Linked DNA regions of Homo sapiens: region 2 is linked to region 1. The links are contacts of gene promoters, found by promoter capture Hi-C in blood cells and fetal thymus (Javierre and others, 2016). All regions are on one chromosome and are shown on one strand. Each heading gives the region's core, a stretch centred on a gene start or on the middle of the fragment in contact. The rest is flanking DNA. Distances are from core to core; before and after follow the strand shown.

Evidence for each region. Contacts are between HindIII fragments. The CHiCAGO score rates a contact against its expected background, and 5 or more counts as called.
Region 2: a contact is called between a fragment that was not itself captured here and the fragment with the promoter of TCF21 in region 1, in 1 of 17 cell types (M1 macrophages). The highest score is 5.0, in M1 macrophages.

Annotation. Positions count from the first base shown.
Region 1 is chr6:133,887,105-133,891,321 of GRCh38, forward strand. It overlaps TCF21 (transcription factor 21), which reads left to right and starts at 2,009. Exons shown (of 2, transcript NM_003206.4): 1 at 2,009-2,743. The coding sequence starts at 2,294. It overlaps TARID (TCF21 antisense RNA inducing promoter demethylation), which reads right to left and starts at 1,902. Exons shown (of 9, transcript NR_109982.1): 1 at 1,500-1,902. RefSeq lists enhancers at 1,557-2,470, 3,722-4,217. The HindIII fragment of the contact is 7,636 bases long and covers 1-4,217 here.
Region 2 is chr6:133,183,942-133,188,158 of GRCh38, forward strand. No RefSeq gene overlaps it. Among named protein-coding and RNA genes, the nearest start is that of EYA4, 55 kb to the right of the region's middle. The HindIII fragment of the contact is 166 bases long and covers 1,968-2,133 here.

The sequences.
Region 1 (4,217 bases), core at 759-3,258:
GCAGTCCATTAACTAAGGTGTAACAGAGACCCAGAGCCAAAAAGAAAAAAAAATGGCTCCAACAAGAAAAATCACAGCTTAATGTATGCAGTAAGGCCATAGTTTGGATTTATAATAATTATCACATTCCAGAGCCCAAATTAATTATTTGTAGTTATTTTGCAGATATCTTAGTAGCTACACACACACACACACACACACACACACATTTCACAAAGTATTGGCCAATGCCCATTTTCACATAGCTCTTTAGTCTAAAAATAACTTTAACTTTCATGTTTTACCAAGACTGAGAAAAGGGAGAGCAAATCAAAGGAAACTAGTTGAGGAATTAGTGAAGAAATTTTTAACAGGCCTGCTGGGTGTTCTCTCACTGCTGTCTTGAACCTCAGATTAAATTATTATACTTTCTGTGTTGTAGTACTGGGTCATTCGTATGTGAAGACAAAGGCAACTTCAACTTGATATTTCTGTCATCCCTGCTGTGGGAAGAGTCCTTTTCCTGGTTTATAACATCAATCATTCTCACAATAAATCTTAGGGTGGATGTGGTCATTTAAATCTCCACCTGCACAAACAACAGAAAATAAGAGAGCTCATAAATCTCTACACTGGTGATTAACAAATTTTGGATCCTCAGCGAAGATATTATGGAAGAGGGGTCGCTAATTCATTAATAAAGACTGATTTGCTGACAACCTGTTTAGTTTACAGCATAGGGGGAAAGCAAACAAGACCCTGCTAGCAAAACAAAACGTTAGAGGTTAGTGAATTCCCAGCTGAGCCTAGGATTAGAGATATGATATCTTAATGTAGGAGAAGCCTTCAGACCCTAAGCCAACCACTCAGAAACCACTCTTACATTTTGCTCCAGCCCCTCAACTTCAATGCCTACCTGCAAGGGAAGAAAACCTGGCAAAGAAATTGTAAGAGAGATTTATGCCTTCAGTCTCCCTGGTTTCATTGCACCAATTTCATCCAATCCCTAGGTTCTGTTTCCCTGTGCTTTTTCTACCTACTTCCCAGGAGACTTTCTTATTCTCTAGGAAAGGTGGTTCGAGCTGGGGTTAAAGATGGAAAAGAACCTTTCTCAAAAGGATAGTCTTGCTTTGTGTTGTGTAATGTCAGCTTCATGTGAGGAACACTGGCACCTAACAGGCTGGAAGAAGACAAAGACAGCAGCATTGAAAGGGACGGTGCATCACAAAAAGTGCCAGGCAAGGTGATGTCTGAGAGCAACAAAGACTCTCAAGGCAATATTAAATGCATTTCTAGAAAAGAAAAAAAAACCGAGGGGAAAGTTTCCATTTATTAGGAAAAGATGATCAACTAACATAATGTTTTCCACACACTCATACTGCCCTCTCATTCCCTACCCACTCCCACTAAGCTGTGTGTGGTTGGGTTTGAGTGTGCAAATCAAGTATGTTTGTGTACACGTAGGCAGTCCTTTGATGTCTTGAAAATGACCAGGTGTAGGTGAAATGTTTTATACTTACTTTTCCATCACCATAAAGATTCTAGGAAGCACTTGTCTTCATTTATCCCGGGGAAGGTGGAAGATCTCGGTAAAGCCTTGGAGTCTTATGAGGTGTTGGCAGGATGCGGTTGATACTCCCTGTATTTTAATTCGTGTTTTCTTGGGAGGAGAGAGGGCATGGAGTGTAGGTGGAAGGCCCAGAAAGAGCCAAACGATCTAGTCGTTTTTCTAAAGTTCTCAGTAACAACCAGTTGTGACGTCTTAAGAGAGAAAGAAGGCCTTTTACAGATGGACAGAACATGCTGCTTCTCGGCCCCGGCCACAGTTGGGAGAAGGTGGCTGGTAAGTACATGATGCAGTTGAGTTGATTTACATTACAAGTTGCAAATCAGGGTCTGTGCATTGAGTTTCCCTCCGGTTGTGAAAGGGGTCTAAGCGCTTTGCTGGGGCCTGGCAGGCCCCTCCCTGGGCTGCAAGGATCCGCCCCTCTATTCCCCAGATAAATTCCTAGTGTCCACCAAATTCCTCAGCGCTCGCTCACCCTCCTCTACGGCCACGACTCTGGGAGTGGGGAAACAGAGAGCCGGTTCCTCTGCTGCAGAAGTCCTCGGGGTTCCTTCTCACAACTCTGCGAAGGGGAAAGGGTTGTGAGACCCAACCAGACCCCAACTCCAGCTCCCAGCAGGAGGTGGCTGCGCCACACTCGGGAGGCCTCTTGGTTTCAGGGTCTCTCTGTCTCTCTCTCACCCTCTTCCTCGCTTTCTCTGTCTCTCTGTCTCTCTCTCTCTCTCTCCCTCGTCCACTCCCCCAAACATGTCCACCGGCTCCCTCAGCGATGTGGAGGACCTTCAAGAGGTGGAGATGTTGGAATGTGACGGGTTGAAAATGGATTCGAACAAGGAATTTGTGACTTCCAACGAGAGCACCGAGGAGAGCTCCAACTGCGAGAATGGGTCTCCCCAGAAGGGCCGCGGCGGCCTGGGCAAGAGGAGGAAGGCGCCCACCAAGAAGAGCCCCCTGAGCGGGGTCAGCCAGGAGGGGAAGCAGGTCCAGCGCAACGCCGCCAACGCGCGAGAGCGGGCCCGCATGCGAGTGCTGAGCAAGGCCTTCTCCAGACTCAAGACCACCCTGCCCTGGGTGCCCCCCGACACCAAGCTCTCCAAGCTGGACACGCTCAGGCTGGCGTCCAGCTACATCGCCCACTTGAGGCAGATCCTGGCTAACGACAAATACGAGAACGGGTACATTCACCCGGTCAACCTGGTGAGTGCTCCCGGGGCTGCAGCTGCAGTCCAGGCGCGCCCGCACTCCCGCCTGCGGTGGGCGCGAGTGCGCGCGGGGCTGGGAGTGGGGGTGTGGGCGCGGCGGTGACTTACACATCTCGACCACCGCGGGCCTAGAGCCTCCAGGGACCGGAGGCGGGCGGTCTAGACACGGCCCTCGCTCTCTGCCCTACCAGCCCCCGGAGCGGGAGTGATTTATGCGAGGGTTTGACGTGGCAGCCCAATTAAAAGTTTGCAAGTGTGTTGAGCTGGCACAGAGGAGGGATCCCCCGCTCCCGCTCCATCGCCATCCTCCCTGGGGTGCAGTGGCTGCTGCGGAACTGAGAACACTGACAAGACGCTGCGAGCGGACAGGCATTTTGTTAATCCTTTTTTCTTCTTTTAGCAGAGAGTGGAACTTGATTTTCCTTTCCTTGTAAATAAAAACACCCAACTCCGTTTCTTTCACAAGCATATTTAGGACCATTGGATAAGGACACATCTATGCCCCCCAAATTGTCCACGTAAGCCCTTAACCGCTTAAATATTCTGTGCTTCTCCTATAAGTGGATTAATATTTTTAAATCCCAGAAGTTCTAGTAATGATCAGCAAAATCAGTAAATCCTCACTAGTATGAGTGTAATAAATACTAAAATAGGTCACTCTCACCCAAGATTTAAGAAATGTTACCTTTTATCTTAAAAAGTAATGCCCATTGAGCCTAATTTTTTAACACAAAAAACTGATAATCATTGAGTCTACTTTTTTCTCAAATGTATTTTACTGTTTAAGAAATATATCTTAATTTTTTTCATTTGATTTTATTTTAAAACTTCTAAGATCTAAAGAAAAACAATAACAACAACTTACTAGGATCTCTGTTTGTATATGATAAGAATGAGAGATTTTTCCTTTTAAAAGGCAAGTCTTATCAGCTAGCACTAGAGCAGTAGTGAGAGGGGTCTGAATTGTCTTCTCACCGAATTGGTTTCTGGAATTGCTGGAGAAGAAGATGCAAACCCACATTTTACCATGAAAAATGTTTTCTCTCCAATTGAAAGTTTGGGGTTTTTCCCCCCCAATGAGTAAATAGCTTTTTAAAATCTCCACCTAAAATGAAAGTGTTGCCTCGAATATTTACAACTGCTACTCTCTTCATCTTTGAATAAGAAACTTAAATGAGCTTTATTATAAAACAGCCCGGAGAAAGGAAGAGAAAGCATACTTTCTCAGTCCAGCATGAAGACGATCTTAAATTAAAAGTCAATGTAGTATAGCATTTTTTTTTCCTTAAGAGGTGGTGATTAATCTAGAAGCTGTAGTCAAAGCCGGTGTTTGCGATGGAAGAAACGAAAGTCGGACTAGGGAAATAGATGGTGATGAAAGGCGATGAAAGCGACAGGGCCCTGAAACCCGACCACCGCCTCAGAAGGAGGCCAGGAGGGCGCTTCGCCCCGAACTCGGTGCCCAGTAG
Region 2 (4,217 bases), core at 801-3,300, 700 kb before region 1:
AGCTGCATAACAAGCAGTGACAAATCAAAAACTTGCATTCAAAGCCCTGTGTTCATTGCATCTGTGTTCTTTGAAAAAAAAGATGCGTAAAAATAGATGCACAAAATAACCCTTGCCCTCTAGGAGTTAACATACTAATTGAACTCATACATACTTCACATACCTTCACACATATCTTCACATACCTTCAAGTATAGGGAGAAAAACCCTGTTCATGTCATAAATATAATCAATAACATCTCATGGTTAATTACAGGAATGGTAGTGTTAATATAAATGCTGACCAATTAATTACCAATAAATACTAACAAATTAGTGACCAATAAATATTTTCACCAGAAAGCACATCAGAGAAATATATTTCATGTTTTTTGTGATTTCATAATAGGAGCAGGTTACCATTTTCAGCAATTACACATATCATATAAATATTTTAATAGCTGAGGGCATGTATGAAAATATAAAGACCCTATCAATATGCATTTGCTAGTTAGTTTACAAAAAATATGTGTCATCAGAAGGCGAAGAATAGTTAATTTACTGACCACGAATGTCCTCTTGTTTTCCAGAACTTCAAATTCTTATATTTTTGAACAACATGTTCTTAAATTACAAAAAGAACATAAAAATGTCGGGCTCAAAACAAAACACACTGCCAGAGCAGAAATAATAGAAAGATAACATATAACTGGAATTCTGATTCCCAACTATTAGTAAAAAGCCATAAACCTATACAGATCCCTTAGCATCTCTGGGTCCATTTGACCAGAGATAGTTGGAGTTAGGTCAACGGGGTCTCTTTAGCCCTTTCCTACTTCTGAATTATACAAACTGTATGATGTCAAACTATAATACAGAGAAAACAGTGCAGAGACAAACCTGCCACTCTAATTTGTCCCATGACAATAAATGTTGTTAGGCCTCAGATTCTACAAAGATAAACTGATGAACTCAATCTTTAAAAAAAAAAAATCCCTTAAACTTCTGAAATTTTATATTGTTTATGTATATTTGGAAGTATATTTCAGGGTACATTATACTTTATTGTGGGTCAATAGGGGGAGCTCTCGCATTGCTTTTTTATGTATACCACAAATAATAGAATTTACTTTACCTTAATTTTAAAGATTGGGCTGGATTATTTCATTACAATTAGGTACTTATAAGCCAGAGGCATCTCATTACTCACTACAGCAATATTAAGGTAGGCCATGTACTCAGCTGTGCCCCTTTAACTTTGAGGGCTTTTTAATCATCCATCAAAGCACACGTTTGTTAGTCTGCTTAAACCATTGCAGAAGTTGTTTTGTTTTCTGTTTGTTTTTTGGACTCCAGCTTCTTCAGATGAAGTTAAGGTCTATGTTTGATTTGTATTCAAACCTATAAGAGTTAAAGGCAGGAGGAAAGGTTTATGGAGATTAAAAATCAAGAAACCATTTCATTAGGTCTGTGCTTCTGTGGGTTGAACTTGCTACACACACAACTTGACGTGTGTACTTCAATTATTATTATTCAATTATATATTTCAGGGGCTTGGCATCTTTGCTCTTTACTGTTTTTTATTTCTTCATGTGTTATATATAATCCACTTCCCTAGCTCACAGAGGATAAAAGCAGTTCATCATAGAATCTTTAGGAAGTTTGCTTTCTCTAATTGAAACAGATGTCCCTTATGTTAATTAGAATATGAAACATGGGTTGTTAACTGTTAGCTTTCAAATGAAACTCATACATTAATGTTCAGGTAAAATGAAAATGAGACAACACAAGTTTAATAGACATTTCTTCAATAAAGTTGTGGTTTATAGTTAGGATGAAATTTTATTGCTTACTGTGATTTATACCTACTTTATCTAAAGGTTCGTGGTGGCCAACAAATAACGGCTCATATTTTTTGGCCATTTTTTCCTTGAAAACACAACTACATTTTAAAATATGGAAAAGTAATTTATAAGGGAAATGAAAAAAGCTTACATGGAAGATTACATAAAATACATCTGTCTTTTCAAGCCATTGAGATATATAAACAACTCGTTAAAACCTTAAAATGCCAAGAGGAAGGACAAAAGATTCTTTTATTGCAATGAACTTTTGAAAAGATGTCTTTTTTTTTTTCTTTACTTTAAAGGAGTAAGCTTTTTACTTCACATCTAAAGATCTTGATTAAATTTTTTGTGTGTATGTGCGTATATTTTAAAATAGTATCACTTGAGGTTCTTTCTTCCGAGGAATCAGTGATAGAGCAAATACATAAGAAAAATAAACATATTTGGCAGCCAAGAAGCTTTTTTTCAATGAAAGTAGAATCTTTTGTTTTTGACTGGAAAAGTTTTTCTTTTTATGTCAAATGAAATTTTAAGATCACCTATGAGTTTGGAACCAAATCCTTTACTGCCAAATCTGATTCCAATCCTTAAAATCTGTTTTTGTAATACTGCCAGCCATGCACTAACTTTAAATAGGTAGCCAGACATATTGGCAAAAATATACATGGTTAATCAAATAAAACTATGTAGCAGTTTGGAAACAATCAATCAACTTTCAGAATCTTTTAAGTATGAAGCTGCTGTGAAGACATCATGGCTTGCAGTGAAATATTGCAATAAAACTCCATAAGCAGCTGCTTTTGAATTCATCTTCTCCTTTGGTTTTAAATTTTCATAGACCTGCCTCTTAACTATGAATTTTATAAGCTTTTGAAAGAAAAAAACCTGGCAACCTACTATTACAACTAACAAAGAAATGAGGAATGGTAATACAGTTGGAAGCTGAACTCACTGCAAGAACTGCCAACTTGAACTTATCTAGTTAACTATTACTGTACGGATTGCACTTGAAACGGCTTTTGATGGCTGACATTATTTTACTGAAAAGAATATGTGTGAAGGTACTTAAGCACTTTCTCTTGTGTTTTATAGCTTAAGTTTCTTTTCAAATAAAAGACAACATAATCTAAAAAATCCAGATATCCCAACATTAGCAGATTTCATTTCTGTTAGATGAGAAAACTATTACTATTCTTTAAATACACACCAATGACAAACCCACAAGACCTTCACTTACTTTTTTAATTTTATATTTTAAAAGAGGAACAAAAATTGCATTTCACAAATGAATTATTTATGAGATAATAATTCTAACCCTGCAGTTACATTAGAATGTTTTATTGCTTCTACTTGGTAGGCATTCTTCTTTATTGTAATCCTAAATGTAATTAATTTGTAATCTTAAGACTAGTGAACAATTTGGCTTCATCAAAACAAAATGTTTGCTATTATCAAATATTAAAATTCAATTAGAAAACACTGAAAAAACTATTCCCCCTCCTTTTCTGTGTCTGAGATCAATTTTGCTTATCTCAGTGGTGGCTAATAACGTTAGCTCCTAACAAATTGCATTTCTGTATAAGGTTTCTTTCTGTGTGTTCTTTGCGTGTTGGGGGTGGGGGTGGGTTTTCATTTTACTAAACAGTTTTTGTTTCTATTTTCTTTCTTTTTCTCATACATGAGCTAAAATCTCTCCAGATTTGGTCATAGATGAAAATCTAAGGATGATGTCTGAAGTGTAGATGGGTATTTGGAAAATATATGACTTACAGTGGTAAAATTTGTTTTTGAGCAATGTTCATAAAGTATCACAGTGTTAGAAATAATGCTGAATTCAGAACTAGAGGAAAAAAAACGTGTGGTGAAATAGCTGATAGATAGTTTAAATATAAGAATGTCTGCATATTGAGTACTCTTGTTTTCTTTAATAAAAGCATAACATGTAAGTTAAAGAGCAGGTTATCATAAATAAATCCAAGACAAAAGAAGAGAAATACCAAACCACTGGCTCACTCCCTGTTCCTCATGAGTGCCCTTGGCTGCCCCAACTCCTACATAATTTCTAAGGCCCAGCAGAGACTTCTCTGCCCAAATCTGAACCTATCCCTCTTTCCCCTCAACTTTGCCATGTCTTCCATATCCTGCCTAGGTCAGGTGACCTTCTTCTACACATTCTAATTCCCCTACCATACCTAATCATTGCACTTGCAAGTTTTATTTATGTGTTTACTGCATATCTCTTTGTTTCCAACTAAATTGTAATCTTCTTGAAGGTAGAATTGCCTTGTCATCTTTACATCCTCAGTGTTTCATATAATGCTTGTCTAAAAGTCAAGAAATGAAAGAATGCATATCTAAACCACAATTTCCACTACTAAAACCTAACTATTC